Linked DNA regions of Homo sapiens: region 1 is linked to region 2. The links are contacts of gene promoters, found by promoter capture Hi-C in blood cells and fetal thymus (Javierre and others, 2016). All regions are on one chromosome and are shown on one strand. Each heading gives the region's core, a stretch centred on a gene start or on the middle of the fragment in contact. The rest is flanking DNA. Distances are from core to core; before and after follow the strand shown. Region 1 overlaps HEXIM1 (HEXIM P-TEFb complex subunit 1). Region 2 holds the start of SPATA32 (spermatogenesis associated 32).

The links. The method cuts DNA at HindIII sites, captures the fragments that hold promoters and counts their contacts. A CHiCAGO score of 5 or more calls a contact.
Region 1: a contact is called between a fragment that was not itself captured here and the fragment with the promoter of SPATA32 in region 2, in 7 of 17 cell types (neutrophils, M1 macrophages, M0 macrophages and 4 more). The highest score is 7.3, in neutrophils.

What each region holds. Positions count from the first base shown.
Region 1 is chr17:45,148,657-45,153,790 of GRCh38, reverse strand. It overlaps HEXIM1 (HEXIM P-TEFb complex subunit 1), which reads right to left. Exons shown (of 1, transcript NM_006460.3): 1 at 1,692-5,134. The coding sequence starts at 4,600. The coding sequence ends at 3,521. HEXIM2-AS1 (HEXIM2 antisense RNA 1) reads left to right here. Exons shown (of 3, transcript NR_186789.1): 3 at 2,872-4,129. Among named protein-coding and RNA genes, the nearest start is that of HEXIM1, 2.7 kb to the right of the region's middle. RefSeq lists enhancers at 3,928-3,987, 3,658-4,213, 4,618-4,727, 4,778-4,827, 4,878-4,927. The HindIII fragment of the contact is 2,947 bases long and covers 2,407-5,134 here.
Region 2 is chr17:45,258,313-45,263,716 of GRCh38, reverse strand. It overlaps SPATA32 (spermatogenesis associated 32), which reads left to right and starts at 1,623. Exons shown (of 5, transcript NM_152343.3): 1 at 1,623-1,713. The coding sequence starts at 1,701. It overlaps MAP3K14 (mitogen-activated protein kinase kinase kinase 14), which reads left to right. Exons shown (of 16, transcript NM_003954.5): 16 at 1-598. All of the region lies in intron 2 of MAP3K14-AS1 (MAP3K14 antisense RNA 1), which reads right to left. RefSeq lists enhancers at 582-1,185, 1,620-1,709, 1,186-1,791 and silencers at 1,740-1,789, 1,860-1,979. The HindIII fragment of the contact is 9,151 bases long and covers 1-5,404 here.

The DNA of each region.
Region 1 (5,134 bases), core at 2,631-5,130, 110 kb after region 2:
ACTGTAATTTTGGGAGGCGGAGGAGGGCGCATTGCTTGAGCCCAGGAGTTTGAGCCCAGGAGTTTGAGACCAGCCTGTGCAACAGGGTGAAACCCTGTCTCTCCAAAAAAAAAAAAAAAAAAAAAAAAATAGCCAGGCGTGGTGGCAAGTACCAGCTACTCAGGAGGCTGCAGTGGGAGGATCGCTTTAGCCTGGGAAGTGGAGGTTGCCGTAAGTCCAGATCGCGACACTGCACTCCAGCCTAGGCAACAGAGCAAGACCCATCTCAAAAAAAAAAAAAAAAAAAAGCCAGGCGCGGTGGCTTATGCCTATATTGCCAACACTTTGGGAGGCTGAGACGGGCGGATCACTTGAAGTCAGGAGTTCGAGACCAGCCTGGCAACCATGGCGAGACCCCGTCTCTACTAAAAATAGAAAAATTAGCCAGTTGCAGTGGCGTGCACCTGTAATCCCAGCTACTCGGGAGGCTGAGGCAGGAGAATCGGTTGAACCCAGGAGGCTGAGGTTGCAGTGAGCCGAAATCACGCTACTGCACTCCAGCCTGGCGACAGAGTGAGACTCCGTCTCAAAAAAAAAAAAAAAGTATAGAAAGTGTTAAAACTGAAATTTTGAATAAACCTCATCATTGTGAGAATATAAATGCAAAAAAAAAGGTAAAATGCTAGTGCCTTTGAAAGCAAAATTCAGACATACTTGCATAGCTTAAGGTAAATTGATGTATGAGAGTTATTTGTAATTAGATATTTGTGTATATATATATTTTTGAGACAGTTTCGCTCTTCTTGCCTAGGCTGGAGTGCAATGGCGCGATCTCCTCTCACTGCAACCTCCACCTCCCGGGTTCAAACGATTCTGCTGCCTCAGCCTCCCGAGTAGCTGGGATTACAGGCATGTGCCACCACACCCGGCTAATTTTTGTATTTTTAGTAGAGACGGGGCTTCTGTATGTTGGTCAGGCTGGTCTCTTAACTCCTGACCTCAGGTGATCTGCCCACCTCAGCCTCCCAAAGTGCTGGGATTACAGGCATGAGCCACTGTGCCCAGCCTAGATATCTGTATATTTGAAGACTGGGCTGAATTTGTCTTCTAAAACATACTTTTTCTGATGATAAATGCATTTATAGTCTTTCCAAGATTCATTTTCTAAATATCATTTTTCTAATACTAGGGGAAATAAGATTTTCATAGCTGAATCCCTCTTTAAGAAGAGGGTCTGGGCTGGGCGCAGTGGCTCATGCCTGTAATCCCAGCACTTTGGGAGGCCGAGGCGGGCGGATCACCTGAGGTCGTGAGTTCGAGAGCACCCTGACCAACATGGAGAAACTACGTCTCTACTAAAAATACAAAATTAGCTGGGGGTGGTGGCACATGCCTGTAATCCCAGCTACTAGGGAGGCTGAGGCAGGAGAATCGCTTGAACCTGGGAGGCAGAGGTTGCGGTGAGCCAAGATTGCACCATTGCACTCCAGCCTGGGCAACAAGAGCGAAACTCCGTCTCAAAAAAAAAAAAAAATAAAGAAAAAGGGTCTAATATCAGAGATAATCACTGCTGCATCTTACAGTTCAGTCAAAATGAGGCTTCAGCTCTGCACTGTAAAGCCAGAGGGCACTGTTGCTGCCTTTCCAAGCAGCTGTTTTTCTGGGGCTGCTGCATGACGTCATAGCAGAAGAAAAAAACACGAAGAAAACTATTTCAAAATAAATGTTTAATATAATTTTTAGACCAAAGAAAAACTCAATCATACATTGTCTCCAGTGGACCATATGTGCCAGAACAGGACCAACTCAGTCCAGCTTTGAAGGCCCTGATTCAGTCCTACTGGTATAATCTCCCTTGATTTATTGATTTGTGTATGCTTCTTATGCAATACAAGGTGCATTTTACTCTTGAAGTCCCTATCACCTCCACCATCGCCATTTAACTGCAAAAGCATGCTTCCTAATGGGAGGGTTTTCTTCCCCCTTCCCTGCAGAGGTTCTGAACCTTCAAGGAGTTTGACAATCTTATGAATCTCTTGAACCTTCTCCCCAGAAAAATGTACATACAAGTCTACAAATAATTTCATGGGGTTCATGGACCCCAAGGCCCACAATGGTTTCTAAGGCCCCAAATTAAGGAACCTCTGTGCTAGTGATTTGAGCAACGCAATTGCCCTCAGAAGACACTGACACAGGGCAGGTGAAGGACTGGGTTAACCAAAATGACAGGAGGCAATCTCATAATTTCTGTTTTTATTTTGGGGCAAAATTTAGTTCTCAGGGCCTCCCTACGTTTAAGAGCAGAACTACTCAAGAACCTAAGCAGCTATCAGCATAGTTTAAGCGATTTAGAATAGGGCTGTGCAAGGGGATGTACAGGGTTCCTCATTCAGCTGAGGACCTCATTTAGCTCCTTAACTGGAAGCTTTACATTTGATCTGCAGTGAGGGGACATTTCTAATTTTAGTTTGACCCACATGGAAAGGTGGATAGCTTTTTTTTTTTGTTTTGGTATAGAGAGCACGTAGAATTGGACAATTAGGTAAATCCTTGGAATCCCCCAAACAGCCATTTGCTTTATAAATCCAGTATTTCTTACCTCTGAACGTCTTAAAGAGCTGCCTCACAAATTAATCTAACCATTGCTTGCACTAAGAAGTTTGCCAAGAGCCTCTTCCAGCCTTACTGGGGGGAAGGAAGAGATTACTGAAAACCAACTTGTAGGAATGAAATGAGGCTGTCAGTTGTCTAACCTAACAAACTGCCAAATTAGGTTTACATTTTTTGTTATTAGACTTTTGAATGGCCGAGGCAGAGTTAAATTTAAAATTTTGGATTGTAGCCACTTTCCACTCGCCTAAACACTCAATACCGGTTTGTTTATTTTTCCAGCATCAAGAAAGAAAACCAAGGCACTAGAAAGCAAGCACACTTAAGTATTGAAGATAATTACATCTTAAATTTTGCCTGAACTGTATATTGTAGCATACTTAAACCCATTCAAGGAAAAAATTGGCAAATTGAAAATTCTCCCATTAAAGATTGATATTTTTGCAAACTGACAAATTTAACGATTTCGGTACCCCTCCCCAAAAATGCAGTCACATAAAATATATCAATACTATTTTGAATTAGCTCTAGAAATCACACTGAAACTATGTTACATTTACAAATATTAAATTTATTATAACTAAAATGAATTTAATTGTTCTCAGATTTGGCCACCTTATAGCTCCGTTTAAGGAGGGGATTTGTTAAAAACAAAAATGCATTATAACTTGGTCAAATTACTTTCACATTAAGGAAAAAAACTTCTAAAAAGGAAAACAAGAAAAGCAACTCTTCAGTTTCACATAATTAAAAGAACAGGAGAAAGCACGCAAGCTACATATAGCTAAATTTACGAAACCAAAGCCAGGGGGATTTCTCTTCTGATTATGTGTCATAAAAAGGTCCACTGTCTTATATACACATGTATATAATGTTACATTCCATCACTGTAAAAAGTCCCCTTTGCCCCCTCCCCCAAAAAAGTTTCAGTCTAGTCTCCAAACTTGGAAAGCGGCGCTCGCTCCTGCTGCCGGTGCAGTTCGTTCTCGGTCAGCAGCTGGAGGTTCTCGGCGCGCAGCCGGTCCAGCTCCAGCTCCAGCTCCCGCACACGCGCGTCGTCGCCACCCAGCCGCTTGCTCTCCAGCCGCAGCCGGTTGTTCTCGTCCTCCATGCGCGAGAGGCACTTCTCCAGTTCCAGGTACTCCTTGATGAGCTCCTGCTTGCTCATGTTCTGCAGGCTCTCCGTGTGGTACCGCTCGTACGTCTCCGAGAAGTCCCGCTGCAGAAACTCGCTGCCGTCCCCTCCCATCCCATCGCTGCCCCCATCCTCCTCACCCCCTTCTTCCATGAAGTCGTCATCGCTGGTGTCGTCGGATTTGGCGGCGGCCCGCTTGGAGTACAGGCCGGTTTTGAGATCCGGCTCCTCCTGGTCGTGATCATCCATGAGGAACTGCGTGGTGTTATAGGGCGCGACCGGCTGGCCCTTGGCGAACATCTCGGCTCGGATCCTTGAAGCTCGAAGGCTCTGTTTCTCGTCGAACTTTTTCTTCTCTTCCCAGGTCAGCTTGTAGTACGGTTTCCAATGCCGCTTCTTCTTGGACGGGCGTCTCCTATGTTTTTTCTTCCCCAGCTGTCTCTGCTGCTGTCCCCACTCCTCTTCGCCCCCTGCGGCAGGAGCCCCCAACTTACTGGCCTCGGAGTCATGACAAGGCTGGGCGAGCAGCTCGGCCTCGGGCGTCGGTTCCACTTCTGCCGGCGGCGGGAAGTCGCCGCCAGCGGACGAGTCGTCCCCATTCTGGCCCTTCTCGCCCTCTCTCAGGCAGCTAGATTCTGGACAGGCCTGGGTCTGCAAGGGAGGTGGTTGGGATTCCAGGCTCCCTTCCCCCTCCGGCCCCGGACGGCCACCCAACTGGGGGAACGCTCTCGATTGCCACCTACTGTCCTCCTCGGGCACCCGCTCCTCCGCGCCTGGGGGGCGCTCAGGGTTCAGCTCTTCCTGGACAGCAGCAGCACCTGTACAGTTGCTAGTTTGAGGCTGGTGTTGATATTCTGACAAGAATGGCTCGGCCATGGCTAGTAGAGTCCTCGAAGTTTAAGAAATTTTGGCTAGTAAGTCCTTAAGGAAAAAAATGGGTTTTTCTTAAAAAAAAGAAAAAGAAAAAAAAAACAGTCCAACAGAGTCCTCTTCAGTTTGTAATTCCTGCAGTGACGCCTTTAGCTAGTCCTTCTATCAGCAAACTCCAACTGCAATCTGGGGAGCTCAAGTCAGTAAAGGGTTAAGCGCCCACAGTGCGGCCAGCTAGCGGGTCCAAGGGGGTGCAGCGGCAGGAACAGTACGTAATGGGCGGAGGTGGGCCTCAAACCTCCAAGCGGAGCACCCCAATAAAGGAGTTGGTGAGCAAGGTGATGAGGGTAAGTCCAGTGCGTGAAACCCAGCCCCGAAGGGGTTAAAACTACCGATGACGCTGCCTCCGAGGGGCCAGATCCACAAAGGGTTAAATCCCCTGCCGCAGAGCCCACAAGGGGTTAAAGTCCCGGCGCCACCTCCTCCCACTTCCACGGGTGTCGCTTCCACCCAAGCTCCCAGTTCCCTAGGCCCGGCCGT
Region 2 (5,404 bases), core at 374-2,873:
TGTCCAGCGTGCTGGTTCCCCAGAGCACAGCTCAGCATCACACTGACACTCACCCTGCCCTGCCCCTGGCCAGAGGGTACTGCCGACGGCACTTTGCACTCTGATGACCTCAAAGCACTTTCATGGCTGCCCTCTGGCAGGGCAGGGCAGGGCAGTGACACTGTAGGAGCATAGCAAGCCAGGAGATGGGGTGAAGGGACACAGTCTTGAGCTGTCCACATGCATGTGACTCCTCAAACCTCTTCCAGATTTCTCTAAGAATAGCACCCCCTTCCCCATTGCCCCAGCTTAGCCTCTTCTCCCAGGGGAGCTACTCAGGACTCACGTAGCATTAAATCAGCTGTGAATCGTCAGGGGGTGTCTGCTAGCCTCAACCTCCTGGGGCAGGGGACGCCGAGACTCCGTGGGAGAAGCTCATTCCCACATCTTGCCAAGACAGCCTTTGTCCAGCTGTCCACATTGAGTCAGACTGCTCCCGGGGAGAGAGCCCCGGCCCCCAGCACATAAAGAACTGCAGCCTTGGTACTGCAGAGTCTGGGTTGTAGAGAACTCTTTGTAAGCAATAAAGTTTGGGGTGATGACAAATGTTTCCAGGCCATCGGTGTCCTCTCTCTTGCCTGCCGGCCTGCTGAACCTCACGACCCTAACAGCTGCCTCTCTTTGCCTTCTTGCTGAGATCTTTTCAAGTCCCCCTTGTTTTGGACAAGGACTGTTTCAGCCCTTGAGTGGGGCTGCTTTCCCACCACTCCTCCCAGTGGCTGCTTCTAGTCCCAACGCTGGGCTAGTCATTCAGACCAGTTAGGCAAGATACCTTGCCCGGTGGCATCAGGGAAGTCCCTCGCCAAAATATGCCAGGCTGAGGGGTGGAGGAGGAGGACAACAAAGCCTGCATGCTTTGTGCCACTGCCCAAGTTAGGCAGCCCCCTACCACCAGAAGGGAAATAGGGATGGGTTCTGGGCCCTGACCATCCAGGGATGCCGGATGCACACCACAGGCCCTCCACCCTCCCCTCCTGTCCTTGAGGCCTGGACTCTTAACCCTTTCCGCTGCCTCCTGAGCCCTGCATGGGGCCAGGGATGCCTTTGTGGGCTGAGTTCCTTGGTCATGGAGCTGGGGCACACGGGGTGCTGAGTTCCTTGGTCATGGAGCTGGGGCACACGGGGTGCTGAGTTCCTTGGTCATGGAGCTGGGGCACACGGGGTGCCTTATCGAATCTGGCTCCACACTCCCTGTGTGCACAAGTGTGTGTGCGCGCGGCTTGGGTTGGTTTAGCCGGTTCTTGGAAGGGCCCTGGGACCACGAAAAGGGCGGCAGCCCTGAGCCGCTGGCGTGCAGAGCGGGTGCAAGTCCTGTCCAGCACAGCCAGGCTTACCTGCCGCCTGCCTCTCGCTCTAGGCCCGCTGCGGAAGCGCGAGCCCCACCCCCGAGGTCTTCGGAGAGGAAGGAGTTCTGGCTTCGGGCCCGCAGCCTTCGGAGGACGCCTCACTCGGGCCGTCCCCCGTCCGCCCGCCCGAAACCTAAATGCGGCTCCCTGCCTGTGGGGTCGCGGCGGGGACGTCACAGAGGCGGCGACATCACAGGCACCGGCGCCTCTAATATTTCCAGCGCCCACCAGTCCCTCAGCCAAAGAGCACACTGGAGGCGGAGAGGCAGCATCCACCAGCCCGCTCCCCGCCTCCAGGACAGAGCCTCGGTCTGCATGGGGGTGACAGGTGGGAGCGGCCGAGCGCCCGGGGGCGAGGGTTGGGGCAGGCGGGGAAAGCGAAAGTGAGAGGGGGAGGGGCGCGAAGGGGGCGGTCAGGAATCCGCCCAGGGCCCGTTCCCCTGCTCCCAAACCCCCGGCACCTGAAAGGCAGGTCGACCCGCCGCCAAAGCCCACCCGGTGCCCCTGACTACGGCTCCCAGCCTCAGCCCCTGCGCGGTGCACACCCATGTGCTCTCACGGACACGCATGCGCGCCTTGGAGTAGGGACTGCAGAGTCAGTGGTTCTTGAAGGGGTTCTGAGACCACAGAAGGAGCAATGGCCTTGTGCACAGGAAACGACTCATGAATTATCCTGAACTGCAGATCCAAAAAATCACATCCAGTTGTCCCTCCTTGATGCTTGAGGCTTTGCAGGGAGGAGCGGCAGTCTTCAGCACATTTTTACGGAGCGCTTCGTTGATGCCTTGTACTCTTCTCTGAACCAATGAGCAAAGATGTTTGCCCCCAGTGCCCTGTGTCTCCCCTTCCCATAGGGGCGTCAGATCCCCCACTGAAATGGTGGCTTTCTTTTGGGGATCCTCTCTCCCAGAAGGGCATGGGCCAGCATTAAAAACGGTCAAAAATTAGGTGGGCATGATGGCTCAACGCCTGCAATCCCAACACTTCGGGAGGCAGAGGTGGGAGGATCACATGAGGCCAGGAGTTCAAGATCAGCCTAGGCAACATAGCGAGACTTTGTCCTCTACAGGAAATGTTTAAAATTAGACAGGTGTGGCGGCATGAGCCTGTAGTCCCAGCTACTTGGGAGGCTGAGCTGGGAGGCTCACTGGAGCCCAGGAGTTGCAGTGAGCTATGATGCTGCCACTCCAGCCTGGGCCACAGAGCAAGACCCTGTCAAAAAAAAAAAAAAAAAAACCAGAGGTCGGGTGCAGTGGCTCACGCCTGTAAGGTAAAACGTAGATTAGACAGCCAGGTCTGTCATGGAGAGGATTACACTGATTATTTGAATTGGGCTTTCAGGCATGAGTAGGACTTTGCCAGAAGAAGGCTTTCCAGGTATAAGAAATAGCATTTGCAAAGGCACTGGGTGCAGAAAGGCCTGCGGTACTCTGGGGGTAGCTTCGGCTTAGGGTGAGGGACAGGAAGCTGGATGCCAAGAGATGAAAAATGAAGGTAGAGATCAGACCAAGAGGCCACATGGAGTCTGGGGGTAACCGGAGACAAGTGAGATGTAGCAGGCTCACTCTGAGGTCATTGAAAATCCAGGTTGGAGGGGGACATAGTTGCAGTGGTCCCACTGGAAGACTAAAGAGATTTAAGACAGTGCAGTGAGTAGCATCCCAGAGTTTGGAGCCAGCCAGACCTGCCTTTGGGTCGTGTGCTGCTCTTAATAGCTGCATGACCTCATACACGTTTCCTCATCTGTGAGAGGAGAGCCGTGGCCAACTGGGCATAGGGTAGGTATGAAGACTGAATGTGCAAAGCACTCAGCACCAAGTGCCAAAGGGTAGGAAGTCATGGGTGTGTGCTGGCTCTGGTACTGGGAGATGAGGACAGCATCAGGGGTAGGAGGGCAGTAGCTGCGGAGGGAGGAGGAGTCACAAATGACCCAGGTTTCTCATTTGGGTGAAAGGATGAAGGATGAATAGGGCGAGGAGAGTGGGGTATGGAGAGATGACAGACTAGAAAGGGAGACAGGGGTCAGACAGGCAGAACCGTGGCAGCCACACTTAAGAGTCTGGACATACAAGATATGAATTTGAGGTAAGAAATTAGGCCAGGCATGGTGGCTCACGCCTGTAATCCCAACACTCTGGGAGGCCAAGATGGGAAGATCGCTTGAGCTCAGGAGTTTGAGACCAGCCTGGGCAACATACTGAGACCTCATCTCCTTTTTTTTTTTTTTTTGAGACAGAGTCTTGCTCTGTCACCCAGGCTGGAGTGCAATGGCACCATCTCGGCTCACTGCAACGTCTGCCTCCCGGGCCGAAGCCATCCTCCCTATCAAAACCTAACAAAGACATTACAAGAAAAGAAAATTATACACCGATATCCCTCATGAATATGCATGTGAAAATTCTGAAAAAAAGCCAATCAGATTCAACAACATAGAAAAAGGGTAATATATCACAACCAAATGAGGTTTATCCCAGTAACGCAAGGCTGATTTAACATTTTAAAAAATAAATTTATAGCTGGGCATGGTAGCTCACACCTATAATCTAGCACTTTGGGAGGCCACGGCAGGTGGATAGCTTGAGCCCAGGAGTTCAAGACCAGCCTGGGCAATATAACAAGACCCATCTCTACAAAAAATACAAAAATTAGCTGGGGGTGGTGGTGAACACGTGTAGTCCCAGCTACTCCAGAGGTGAGGTGGAAGGATCACTTGAGACAGGGAGGTTGAGGTTGCTGAAATTGCGCCACTGAACTCCAGCCTGGGCAACAGAGTGAGACCCTGTCTCAAAAAAAACAATGTATTTTACCATAAACAGAATATAAAAATATAAAAGAATTATCACTCAAATAATATAACATTACTCATATGTTAATGTATTATAACGTATGTTATGTATAACATATATAATATCATATTAAAGAAAAACCATATGATCATCTCAATAAATGCAGAAAAAGCATTAGGCAAAATCCAGCATCCATTCCTAATTAAAACTAAGCAATCTAAGAGACGAAACTTCACAAAGATGCCCAAGCTAATGAAAGGCATCATGAAGAAACCTACAGCTAGCATCATCCTTAATGGTGAAAGGCTAAACACTTTCCCCTAAGCTCAGAACGAAGCGAGGATGTACACACGCACTCCTACTCAACATTGTATGGAGATTGTCCCCAGTGCAATTAGGCAAGTAAAGAAAATAAGAGGAACCAGATTGGGAGGGAAGAAGTAAAAGTGTCTTGACTCACACACATTATTGTCTATGTAGAAAATCCGATAGAATCTAAAAGAAAAAAAAAGCTATGAGAACAAATAAGATTTTAGTATAGTTGCAGGATACAAAAGATGGATATATTTCTGTATACTAGCAACAAACCACTGGAAATTGAAATTATTTCGGCCAGGCACGGTGGCTCATGCCTGTAATCCCAGCACTTTGGGAGGCCGAGGCAGGCAGATCATTTGAGGCCAGGAGTTTGAGATCAGCCTGGCCAAAATGGTGAAACCCCATCTCTACTAAAAATACAAAAAGTGAGCTGGGCGTCGTGGCGCATGCCTATAATCCCAGCTGCTCAGGAGGCTGAGTCAGGAGAATCGCTTGATCTCAGGAGGCGGAGGTTACAGTGAGCCGAGATCACACCACTACACTCCAGCGTGGGTGACAGAGTGAGACCCTGCCTCAAAAAAAATTATTTCAATTATTTCATATACTGCAGAATATCACTTGAATCCCTAATAGAACATTCTCAAGTCAGGCAACGAGGTCCCAAGCTGAGTCAATGTCTGACTTTTTCTCCCAGCCCCCAGTGCTGTTAAGAGGCTCACACAACAGTAATTTCTTCTCCTGTCCATACCCAGCTGCCGTTTATGGAGGGGTTGAGGCTGTGGGTGTTGATTAAACTGCCCAGGGAAATTCTGTAAAGGGAGCAAAGGCCCTGAGGTCAGAAGCCTGGGGGAACAGCAGGACCTGGGACAGGGGGAGTTGGAGAGGGAGAAGAGAGACACGTGAGGAAGCCAGGGA